3 separate regions of the Homo sapiens genome follow, and regions 1 and 2 are each linked to region 3. The links are contacts of gene promoters, found by promoter capture Hi-C in blood cells and fetal thymus (Javierre and others, 2016). All regions are on one chromosome and are shown on one strand. Each heading gives the region's core, a stretch centred on a gene start or on the middle of the fragment in contact. The rest is flanking DNA. Distances are from core to core; before and after follow the strand shown. Region 1 overlaps ATP1A2 (ATPase Na+/K+ transporting subunit alpha 2). Region 2 overlaps CD48 (CD48 molecule). Region 3 holds the start of VANGL2 (VANGL planar cell polarity protein 2).

Region 1 (4,413 bases), core at 1,498-3,997, 260 kb after region 3:
CTTCCATTTTCCTCAGATGTCTTTCTCACTTGCATGACCTATCTAGGTCTCTCTCTACAGGACATTCCCAGTGCCTTCTAAGCCAGGCTTAGAGAATGGGCAAGGCTGCCTGCAGAGCAAAAGTGTTAGATAGGGAGTAAGGGAAAGAAAGCTATCTCCTGTAGGAACCTGAAACCAACTCTCCAGCCCAGGGTAAGTGGGCACAATGATCGTCGGTTTGAAGGGCATTTGCCTGGAGGGAACAGCCCTGCCACCTAAGACGTCAAAAGCAAATCATTTTTTTTTTTTTTGAGATGGAGTCTCACCCTTTCGCCCAGGCTGGAGTGTAATGGCACGATCTCAGCTCACTGCAACCTCTTCCTCACAGGTTCAAGCAATTCTCCTGCCTCAGCCTCCTGAGTAGCTGAGATTACAGGCGTGTGCCACCATGACTGGCTAATTTTTTGTACTTTTAGTAGAGACAGGGTTTCACCATGTTGGCCAGGCTCGCCTCGAACTCCTGACCTCATGATCCACCTGCCTCGGCCTCCCAAAGTGCTGGGATTACAGGCATGAGCCACCGCACCCAGAAAAAGCAAATCTCTTAGTATTTTTCCTCTTGTCCAAAGGTTCTGACCATGTTCATGACCTAAGCTTGTCCCTGGAAGCATACATGTCCCTGGGAGACAGGAAGGTTCAGGGAACTTCTCCACCCTGATTCTAGCCAATGGCCAGCGAACTCCTTTTCCAGGGTTGGCTTGGCAGTGTCGGGGAATGATGCAGGTTCATCGGGATGGGCATGAAAAGAAAGGGAATGGAAGAGGCTGGGAAAGAACTTGTGGCCATCCCTTTCAGAACAGCATGGAGCTCTGAGGACTTAGTATTACAGAAGGTGAAGTGTTATTAAGTACATGAGTGACATCCGGACCTTGTGGACTAAGAGGACCCCTAACCAAGGGTCAGCGGGGAACTCTGTGGCACACAAGTGTGGCATTTCTGGAAGCTCTTGATTGCCTTCTGGTCCTGCCTCTGCTGCTACCCTGATGAGATCTGAGTTTGTTCTGCTGGTGGGGTATTCTAAAATGTGGGACGTAGAGCTGGAGTCCACGACATCTATCTGGAGACTCATGTCAAATGTCCTGTCATTGGCACTACCTCACTTCCTTTGTTGTTTCCTTCCTCCAGCCAGCCCTACCTCCATCTCCCACCTGTCTGCCCAGCTCTCCCTGAAGGTCCCTTACCAGCCTCGACTGGGAGACAAGTCCACCTTTTCCAGTCTCAGGCTCTTGCACTCACCAGAAGAACCTTTTGTGATTGCAAGGTCTGAAGGGGAAGCCAGGGATAGAGTCCTGCAGGAAGCTAACGGGGGTGGAAGTGGGAAATGGAGTGAGGCTGGGGTGATCTGAGAGGGCTTCCTTCTGGTTTAGATGGGTTCCTGCTTTTGGATGCTGATCTATTACAGTAGGAAGTGGGGTTGAAGGGATGGGAGTGGGCAGGGTGGGGTAACCCTTAATTCCTCAGAAAAAATAGACAACATAGTGGAGTGGGATGGAAAAGGATCTGGTCGGGGGGACTCTAACACATAGTGTCTAATCTGATTGTTCACAGTTAGGTCTATGGGGTCATCACCCCAATTTATATACCCCGCAACTTAGCCTGCTGAGTTGCCTCATTATCTCTCCCCAAATGTTGCCACCCAATGCCACCCGTTATTTCCATCCCTCTCCATCACCATCCCCACAACACCTCCAGAGCTCCCCATCTTTCCATGCCTGGTTCTTCTTCCAATGGGGTCAGTAGTATGTCTCCTTCTCCACCCAGCCTGTTAGAGAGATTGGGAGTGGAGATTGCAGCATGAGCTTAAAAGGAGGCAAGAGATCAATTTCCTAGGGGCTTGGGTCGCTGAAGCCAGGTGGAAGGAGAAGCCTGGTGAAGGGCACTGGGGGAAGTGGCTTAGGAAGGTGGAAGGAGGCTGGGTGCAGTGGCTCATGCCTGTAATCCCAGCATACTGGGAGGCTGAGGCAGGCGGAGATCAAGACTCCTGGCTAACCCAGTGAAACCCTGTCTGTACTAAAAATACAAAAAATTAGTCGGGCATAGTGGCATGCGCCTGCAATCCCAGCTACTCTGGAGGCTGAGGCAAGAGAATTGCTTGAACCCAGGAGGCGGAGCTTGCAGTGAGCCGAGATCGTGCCACTGCACTGCACTCCTGGTTGGGCGACAGAGCGAGACTCCGTCTCAAAAAAAAAAAAAAAAAAAAAAAAAAAAAGAAGGTGAAAGGGAGGAGAAGGAGGTCCAGTGAGCTGGGGCCATAGGTTAAAGGAAGGGAGGGTGAACCTGCCTTTAGGGGAGACTTGTATTTAGCACATTGGAGGCTGGGGCAGAATAGGTCGAGGGTGAAAATGCAAACGCCCACAGGGCCTCTTCAGGTGACGAACGAGAGTCTAAGGGAGCAGCTGTCCATTCTTGCTGTGCAGAGATGTGGACATGGGATTAACAGCTCTTCTGATCTTCAGGAGAAGTCGAATTCAGATTTTATGTGAAAGACCCTAAATTTTCTATATCGGACCAATTAATCCACCCTCCTCCCCCCACACACACAAAATATGGCACAGGTCAAACCAAACAGTATTCCTGGACAGTATTTGGTTTGTAAGCCATCATATTTTAACCTCTACTAAGTGATTAAAAAACGCTTGTAGGAAAAACAATAACTTGTCGGTTGATGAGTGGGGATCAGGAGGCCTGGGTTCTAGTACCAGTCCTGCTATTCTTTGCTTTACGACCCTGAACAGATTCACCTCTGAGCCTCCTCTATCTGTAAAATATGGACGTGGGACTAGGTGACCTGGAAAGGCCCTTCTAATTCTGATGTTCTGTGGTTTCAGGTGGAAGGTGGAGGGCCTCGGAGACCAACTGTGAGTTAGGCGGGGTTTAGAATCTGATGGGAAGAGGGCAGAGACAACAGGTTCGAAAGAGTCAGGGCTCCTGGGACCTGGGACCCCAGGATCTGAGGGTGTTGAGGAACAGAAGCAGGAACCAGTAGTGGGAGTGGAGTCTGCGTGTGGTCCTGGAGGGAGGAGCTGGTGGTGGGGCTTGCACTTTGCTGGGGGGAATGTGGAGGGGCTTACCACCAGGATACCGCCGCAGGATGAGCTTTCGGACCTCATCATAGATGAAGATGAGGAGGCTGTAGGGGAAGGCGCAGAACCACCAGGTGACTCTGAAAGCAATGGAGGAGAGTGTCAGCAGCATCAGAGGTTGGCTTGGTGGCTGTCACATAAAGGAGCATTCAAAGCGATCAGAACTTGGATCCTGGAGGGGGCTGAAGGCCCCCCGTATGACTACTCAGGCCGCCCGAAAGAGACACTCACTTGAGCGGGTACATGCGGAGGGCTACACCCATGCCTGGGCAGTAAGAGAGAAAGGCAGCCAACGCCGTCTCCTCCAGGAGCCCAAAAATCAGGATCTTGTTCCTGAAAGGCAAAGAAAGGAGGTGGCAGGTGAAGGGGGATCATGGAGGCAGAGATCCTGGGATACCCCTGGGGTGCAAGGGAAAGAGGAGAGAGAATTCTAAACGACATAGTCGCATGTCTTCTTCCAACAGCCTCTTCTCATGCTTTATGTAACCAAAGGAAGATGTTATTTGTTTTTCTGCTTACTGAGTTTACGTCCGAATGTTGTCTATTGCACGTATATTCATTCATTAAATAATTGTTTCTAGGTGTTGGGTGACGTGTTCTGTACTGGAGACACGGTGGTCAACATGGGGCCTGTCTCATGATCTTGTTATTGCTCCAGGCACAGGGCCCATGAAAGTGTGTCTCCCCAGCAAGATGCTTGAAAGCTCCTTCAGTGCAGGGCCCATGTATGTCTTCTACCGTCTCAGCATCTCCCACAGTTCCTGGTGGTGGTTTCATTATAGATATTTAATTCAGAGAATGTAAAGGGGATCACTGCATAATAAGTGGTTAATATATGTTCACTTTATCAGAATTGAAAAGCAGGATAGAATAAGGAGGTTCTCAGGGCAGTTTCTGCAGTCAGACAGGTGGTGTCTATTCCCAGTTCTGCCATTGACTAGCTTTGGGTTGCAGGCAATGTTGAATTTCTCTGAGCCTCACGTTCCTTCTCTATCAAATGGAGATTTTACCTTTTTATCATAGGGTTGCTGGGAAAATTAAGGGAGATAACACGTGAAAAGCTCTGCAATGTTCTGTCACTGAAATGTTCAGTGACAGACCTGGAAAATGTTCAGTCACATTATTACTCCACTTTTTTTTTCTGAGACAGAGTCTCACTCTGTTGCCCAGGCTGGACGATCACAGCTCACTGTAACCTCCACCTCTTGGGCTCAAGTGACCCTCTTGCCTCAGCCTCTCCAGTAGCTGGAATTACAGGTGTGTGCCACCACGCCCTGCTAATTTTTATATT
Region 2 (4,025 bases), core at 370-2,869, 280 kb before region 3:
GAGGCGTGAGAGCCTGAGCCTCAGGCGAAGCTTCTCCTCCCCAGCCTGATGTTCCTAGATGAACTTAGGAAGCCAGATTCCCCTGTCTCCTGGGAGGATCCACTCATGAGTGTCACACCTGGCTCTAGATCAGGCCTACACTGGTGCTAGCATGGGACAGCTAAGGCCATGGGTTTTAGAGTCAGTCATACCTGGGGTCACTTCTAGGACTGTCACTTACTAGCTAAACAAGTTACTTAGCTTCCCCAAGTCATGTTCTTCCTAAATAAAGGACAAAATAACAGTTCCTATCTCGTGCTAAGGATTCAATGAGACAAGACACGTAACTGCCTATCACAGTGGCTGACAAGTCCTTAGTAAGCGGGAGCTAAATGAGACGCAGTCTCTTAGAGTTTTGGGGACCCTTAATAAACTTGGATCAATATCTCCAGCACTCTGGGAAATACCAGAGTCAGATACCCTCCACAATCCTGAAGTCAGATCCCTGAGCCCTAGCGTACACATTCTTCTAGAATAACTCAGACCTGAGGTGCTCACATTCACCTGTGACCCCTGTCATGCCCAGTCATCAGGGATTCTGGCCTCTGAGAACGTTGCTGTTTTGTGGTCTTCCTGGGCTCTGTCTACCCTCCTTAACTGCACTGATTTCTTTATCTCTACTCCCACATGTGGACTACGGAGACTGTGTATGCTCTTCCTTATTCTTCCTAACTAATTGGCCCTGTCTCTACCAGCCTCTCCTGATATGCCTTGCTCTTCTGCCACCACAGACCCACTGTGACAGTGTGGTATCTGACCATGAGAACACAATTTGGCTGGTGGTTCCAACACCACCCTCATATCAATATCACATCCTGAGATCCAGAAAAAGGAAGACGCACATTCCCTGTCCTCTATAAAATGGGTGTGACTGTTCATCCGAAGAGAGGATAAAAGCAATAATAAATCCATTTTTTTTGGAAGGGTAAACCCATCTGTCACTTTTTAGTCACCGAAATTATCCTAGAAAGCCCCCTCAAACTCCTTTCCCTACTGTATCACTCATTCCTTTTTTTTATTTTCTCCAGCTCAGCCCTTCCCCACCCCAGCATCTAAGCTTTCCTTCCATCCTTTTTCTTTTCCTTTCCTTTTCTGTCTTCCTTTCTCTTCCCTTCTTCTTCCTAGTTGGTGCAGATACTTAGTGGGGTAGAGAAACAAGGAAAGGAAGTGGTCCTTTTCTCTCTAAAGTCAGCTGTGCATTGTATCATGTGGTCATCTGTCTGTACCTGAAGATCTACCCTACCTCGTTGATGTCCAGAGTAGGGGAGCAATGCTTTCCCAGGCCACAGATATGTCGAGGTAACCTTTGAGCACAGGGCCCAGGTAAGCCAGTGATATTTAAGGAATTTCTGCATTTTTTATACTTTATGTTTGGGGAGATTGAGGAAAAGAATGTCCCAGCCAAATAGGATGGGATTCAGGGAAGAAATTAATTTCCCTGCTCTGTGAGCTCCCACACCAGTGTCCAGTACACTTGCCCCTTCTCAATACATTAGTCAAGATAAAGATACCTAAGCATATAGGGTTTTCTTGCTCTTTCAGCCCGGTCCTTTGGAGTAGAATGGATTGCAAGTTGGCTAGTGGTCACGGTGCCCACCATTCTTGGCCTGTTACTTACCTGAGATGAGCTCTTTTAACTCAAGCGAAACTTCAAGGCCAGAAGATCTTGCCTGTTGGTGATCATGCTCCTCACCAGGACAGAGACTGTATAGGCTGACCAGAAGCATGCTGCTGAATTATCAACGAGGATTTTCAAGTTAACTTTTAAATACTGGTTATTATTTAATTTTATATCCCTTTGTTGTTTTCTAGTACACAGAGATATAGAGATACACATGCTTTTTTCCCACCCAAAATTGTGACAACATTATGTGAATGTTTTATTATTTTTTAAAATAAACATTTGATATAATTGTCAATTAACTGAATTCCTGAAGTTGTCCCAAATCTGTCAGACAGTGCCTGCTCCATCAGCTGGGAGAAACTGGAATCTGGAGACACAGAGGGGAGAGCCTGGAGCCACCGGCTCCTGTGTGTCAACACAGCTGAGGAGCCAATTTGTGCTACTTCTGACCCTTATTCCAACATCCATGCTAAGCTTCCTGGGGCTCCAGCTCCCCTGCCAAGCCTTTGCCTCCTTCCCAGTGGCTTGCCTTGCTCTGACCCCTCTGAGGACCACTCTCCTTAAGTCTGCTGCAAACATAGGTTCAGGCTTGCTCTCGCAGAAGGAAGGATGCAGCTCTATCTCATAAGAAGCCTTCCTGCCCCACAAGCCTCGCATAGGGAGCTGAATTCTCTCTCCTCTTTTCCATTGACTGTGTGGGCAAGTCTTCAACTCCTAGTCGTTTCACTGGATCCAAAAAAACCATCAGATCGACACAGTGTTCTCACCAGAGTTGTCCACTATATGCAGGTAGGCGCCCCCAGGCCCACCACTGACATAACACCTGGGATTTTTGCTTAATGTCCCCTCCTCTAAGTCTCCTCATGTGCCTGGAGCTGAAAGGGTCACTACAGAATGCACTTCCCCTTCAGAAAACTGCCCACCACAGACTGCTTGCCTTTCAAACCAGACCAGCCTCCCCCATCTCCCTCGTGGCCCTTCCCTCCTCACCCCATCTCCTCGGTGACAGATACAGTGCTATGTGTTTGCCAAACCTTCTCATTTTCCCCTGGGTGAGTGAAAAAACTCTTTTTCCCAGCTACTTTTGTGTTTAGCTGGAGCCATGTGATGAAATCTGTCCAATAGAAAGTGGGCGGCATGGATGTGGCAGGAGTGAAGGACTTCGGAAGTCTGGCTATATGATGCAAGGAACTGCATCGGAGCCATTGTTTGGAAGGCAGCTGCCTGCCCTACATTGCACAAGCATGATAAGAAAGGTAGGGTTTTGTCTTTTCCACAAGACAGCCTGGGCTTCCGAAGAAACCCCCCACCCTGAGCCCAGCCTGTAGTCCCATCCAAAATCACCTCTGAGCAGCCTGCATCCCCATCCAAACTCACTTCTGAGCAGTCTGCATCCCATCCGAACTCACCCCTGAGCAGCCTGCATCCCTATCCAAACTCACCTCTGAGCAGCCTGCATCCCCATCTGAACTCACCTCTGAGCAGCCTGCATCCCCATCTGAACTCACCCCTAAGCAGCCTGCATCCCCATCCGAACTCACCTCTGAGCAGCCTGCATCCCCATCTGAACTCACCCCTAAGCAGCCTGCATCCCCATCCAAACTCACCCCCGAGCAGCCTGCATCCCATCCAAACTCACCTCTGAGCAGCCTGCATCCCCATCTGAACTCATCTCTGAGCAGCCTGCAGTTCCATCCAAACTCACCTCTGAGTATCCTGCATCCTACAGGTGGACCATTTCCATCCCCTTTCTGTAAGCAGCACCCTTTTCCTTCCCCTCACTTTTCTCAGTGGAAGAAGAGGGTTTTGGGGGGAATTTCACGCGCACACACACACACACACACACACACACATATACACACACGCGCGAGCGCGAATGGGATAAACAAGCAGTAAGAAGGAAACAAATGCCACTTTCTGTCACAAATAAGCACATTCCTCAGCTGCTGAGGAACCAGCGTGCCTCTGCGGACATTGTATTTGTATTATTTCCAGTTACTGGAAACCTGAGGTAAATCTCACCTTAGACGGCTCAGGTCACAGACACCAACGGTTCCCTGCTCCTCCCATCCCTCAAGGCAGTGCCAGATACATAATTTGTGGGGCTCAGTGCAAAATGAAAATGTTGGCTCCCCTTGCTCAAAAAGCAAGGAAAATGTGCCAATAAAAGTACTGAAATATTAAGCCTTTTCTTTTCTTCCACAGTCTCTCTACTTGAGATGGTATTTTTTTATTTGCTTGCTATTTAATGCTGTTCTAAGTAAAGGCAAATTAAAAACTTAAATTATCATGAATTTTACTTTCTATATTTTAAAACATTAGTTTTAAATGAAAATAGAATATTTAATTCATATTTGGGATC
Region 3 (3,877 bases), core at 1,032-3,531:
CAACCCCTTTCCTATACCCCAAAAGAGAAAGGATGAGAGAGGACAGGGAGAGAAGGGAGCTGTGGCTTCTTGGTGGAAAGAGACATTCACTTCCTGGATAGTCACTGACTTCCCACCACACTATCATGATGATGAGTATAGCAGTATAGCCTGCAATGGGTACCTGGCCCTTTCCCGACACACAGACACTCAGCCCTGGCCCCACACCCACAGCTCCATCTCAATCATGCTTGACACCAGGGAAAAGGGAAACTTTTTGGTCTGATAAACCACACAGACTCACTTGCAAAAGCTGCTGAAGAAACACCCTATGCCACCTTCTCAACCCCATGGGCAGGGAACCCAAGCTGTTCCCCACCAGGTCTCAACCCTCCAGACATGCTTCCTCCTCTTGTTTCCATCCCACACCAAAATCTCAAGACTCCTCAGGAACTTTAGGATCTTAGAGTCAGGGCAGAGTTAGAAGGCTATGAAGCAGCAAACTCTGAGACGGCTTTCCAAGAGAACTGTGGCCTGAAGCTTTTACCTAAGGCTGGGAATCCAAGAGTGTAGCTTCTCCAAGCGCTGGAACCCAGCCTATGACGATGGGGGAGGAAGTTCCTCTTATTCTTCTCCCTGACCCCGCCAATCTTCCAAATTCCTCTAGGACTACAACCAGACCCCTTGTTCCCTATTCCCCACAACACACGCCCTCTTCCAGAAAAACCCATCCCCCAAAAACAGGCACTTCATAAGACAACTCATTCCCTCCCACCCATAGGTCTCAGATACTTAAGGTACTACCCCTAAACCCAGGCGAGGCCATCCACGAAGTCTCAAAATCCTGCAGACAGCCTTCTTTTCGGGATTTTTGCCAGGAAAATCTGCCTGCAGAGTCTAGAGGTACCCCCGACACACACTCAGAAACATACATACCAGCTAAGGCAGGCACACACATTGATACCCATCAACACAGGTTACACACAAGAGAACACAGATTCACACCCCTTCCCAGTACACAGGTGCACACACACCTATCCACATACACTCCATTCTGCTCTTACACACCCACCTTCCTCAGTACCTACACACCTCTTTCCCGTGAACCCCTCTCCCAGTACACACACATAGACATACACGCCCTCCCCTAAGTATACATATAAACACATATCCAAACACACAGCAGATGCATGGTCAGCCGCTCCCTGGGTGCACACACACTCAAGCACAGAAAAACACCTACACATCCAAACCAGGGGCCCACCTGCAGGAACATGCAGCACGTCAAGGCGTGCACACACACCAAAACAAAGAATCATGCACACGGATCCTCCACCAACCCTTCAAAACTCACTAACGCAGAGCCCACAGTCCCCCAGATGGGTAAATATGAGTGGGGAGAGGGATGCCAGCGCCTGTCCCCTCGGCCCCTATACACAGTCTACCGCCTCCAGCCCCATCCTCGGTCTGTACATACACCCTATCTACTCTGCCCAACCCGCCCCCCTGACTCCACTCTACACCCTTAACGCATACCTGCCTCCGTCCCTCCCCACGCTCCTGAGGGGTGTATGCACCCCAAAACACCCTTGGCTTCCAATACCTCCAGACTCCGATCCTTCCACGCCTCTCCCCCCACCTCCAACACAAGCTCCCCGTCTCCGGCTTCAACCGGCTCCCCTGGGATCATTAAGGCCCCCGCCCGGGCCCAGGAAAGTCCCCGGCTCTCCAGGCCTGGGCTCCGCCCCCTCCCCACGAGCCCCTTCCCCTCCCCAAAGTTGGGGGGGGTACTCCGCTGTGCAGTGGGGAAGCGGACCGGAAGGGGGTTGCCCGGAGTCCAGCCCCCCTTCCCCCATAAGCCACCCCGCTCGCTCTGGGGTCGGGCACCCCCTGGCCCCTTGCATGATTTTCCTCCTTTTCCATTTCTTTTTTTCTCTCTCTTTCTTTCTTCTTTTTTTTTCAAACTTTGCCCGCGCCCCCGCGGCCCGGCACTCACCCGCCGCTGCGAACTGCCGGGTGGGCTCCGCGGGCGCCCCGCTCGGCCCGTCGCCTTTGTATCCGCAGCGCTCCGGGTCGCTCCGAACTCGGCGCTCCTGGACAGGCAGCGCGCGCGATGGGGGATGTTGAGGGGGGGGTTCTTGAGTCTGGTCACCCCCTGCTCCGTCCCAGACCGCTGCCTCTTCCCCCTCAAGGCCCCGGGGGCTGGGGGCCAGGGGGGAATAGGGGGCGCTCAGGCTCCCATGGCGGGACCAAGGATCAAGGAATCAAGGATCAGGAATCAGATCGGGAGCCGGCGGCGCAGGGGGGAGGGGGCGGAGGGGGAGGGGATGAGGGTGGGGGGTGCAGGGGGCGGGGGAGCGCGAGCTCCCGGGTGCCGCCTCCCGGCTGTTCCCACAGCCGCCGCCCCTCCTACCGCCGCGTCCATTGTCTGCGGCCCCGCTCTTCCCGGAGTCGCCGCTCCCCCAGCCCTGCGCCTTCAGATGCCCAGCGGCCCTCCCCGATCCTGGGAATCCGCGGTGGGGCTGACACTCGGGTCCCGAACGGTGGGCAGGGGAATGCCTCGATTCTTGGACTTGGCCCAGCCCGCAGTCCCTCCTGGGGCTGTCTTCCTGGACCCCTCCTGTCGGAGAAGGAGCCCCCAGATCCCTGGGGCTGGCCATATTCTCTTTAGGGCCACGGACCCGACTACACAAAATCCAATGGAATCTGGGACGTGGGAAGATTGATTTTTTTTTTCCCCCTAGGGGTCCGAGAAGGGAGGGTCATCCCTGATTTTAATTAGTGGCGAGAGGCGCACGCCTCTTCCCATGCATACGGGGATTTCCCTGACACCATCACCACCATATCCCCTCCTTCCAAAAATAATTTAATTACTTGGAGTTCTAGCTGCGAGCAGCGACCGCCCCAGTCAGTCTGGGACGCTCCCTCATTAACACATTTTTCCTCCCCTCTGGTTTGAGTGTTGGGATTAATTACAAAGGGAACCCTGCCTTAGGGAAGAAGGGGAGGAGGAAAAGACGCGGGCGCCTGGGAGTTTGAATGGCAGAGGAGAGGGGGCCTTCTCCCAGGAAACCTCCAAGAGGAAAAATGCCTTGGCCAGTTGGGTCCCCAACCCCAAGCAGGCAGATTGTCCATCCCAGGAGTTTCAGATACTTTAGAGTTGAAGGTGCCACACAGGGATTGTAGGATCTCACAAAATATCCTACACGTTTGGGGCATTTGTGCCTCCCAGTATGCCAAGAAACCAGTTAGGGTTCTTTTACATGTGACCCTACAAGAGTGAACCCACACCGTAAAAGCCTGGGCTGTGGGAAGTCCATGTTCCCCTTGGAGTAAGTGAAAGCAGTATTCAATTATCATTAATGTTATTGCCGTGCAACCCGCCACTTAGAGTAGTATCATTTCAAAAGCATCTTCACATACTTCTCCCTAAGCAGGCCAAGGCCTTTTCAATATCTCAGCCTCCTTCAGTTTCCAATCCTGGCACCTGCTTGAACAACCCTGTGATTAAGGAATCCCAGAGAAAGAGACTCCCAGCCTCTGTTCCTCACTTGTTTGGGAATTTTTGCTCCTCCCTGATGAAAACTATTTCCTGAGACCTAATCTCACCCCTTTTGATGGTTCATTCTAACCTGTCCAAAGATGAGGACAGAACCAACTATGCTGCATTGTTCAAAGATGCAGAACAGTAAAACACACTTCCTTTCTCCTTTGCCCAAACTCTGTCTTTCCTCATCCCCTCCTCCAGTAGTATGGGTAAGCAGGTGACTCAGCATCAAGACTACATGAAATATGCAGAATCATCATTTCAGGTACCCAAGTCCCTGCATGCGTCCAGGCACTCATTCACCTTGTGCCTATCATGTGCAGGCACTGGGCCGCACTGGGGCTCCTGGCA

Evidence for each region. Contacts are between HindIII fragments. The CHiCAGO score rates a contact against its expected background, and 5 or more counts as called.
Region 1: a contact is called between a fragment that was not itself captured here and the fragment with the promoter of VANGL2 in region 3, in 2 of 17 cell types (erythroblasts and M1 macrophages). The highest score is 5.4, in erythroblasts.
Region 2: a fragment that was not itself captured here is called in contact with the fragment with the promoter of VANGL2 in region 3 in 3 of 17 cell types (fetal thymus, erythroblasts and activated CD4 T cells); the score reaches 7.1 in fetal thymus.

Annotation. Positions count from the first base shown.
Region 1 is chr1:160,138,682-160,143,094 of GRCh38, reverse strand. ATP1A2 (ATPase Na+/K+ transporting subunit alpha 2) reads right to left here. Exons shown (of 23, transcript NM_000702.4): 21 at 3,354-3,455; 22 at 3,111-3,202; 23 at 1-1,801. The coding sequence ends at 1,773. Among named protein-coding and RNA genes, the nearest start is that of ATP1A4, 11 kb to the left of the region's middle. The HindIII fragment of the contact is 4,223 bases long and covers 636-4,413 here.
Region 2 is chr1:160,676,688-160,680,712 of GRCh38, reverse strand. CD48 (CD48 molecule) reads left to right here. Exons shown (of 4, transcript NM_001778.4): 4 at 1,582-1,967. The coding sequence ends at 1,661. Among named protein-coding and RNA genes, the nearest start is that of SLAMF1, 32 kb to the right of the region's middle. The HindIII fragment of the contact is 1,041 bases long and covers 1,099-2,139 here.
Region 3 is chr1:160,398,968-160,402,844 of GRCh38, reverse strand. It overlaps VANGL2 (VANGL planar cell polarity protein 2), which reads right to left and starts at 2,281. Exons shown (of 8, transcript NM_020335.3): 1 at 1,976-2,281. The region is part of intron 3 of LOC105371466 (a long non-coding RNA gene); the gene reads left to right. The HindIII fragment of the contact is 3,661 bases long and covers 522-3,877 here.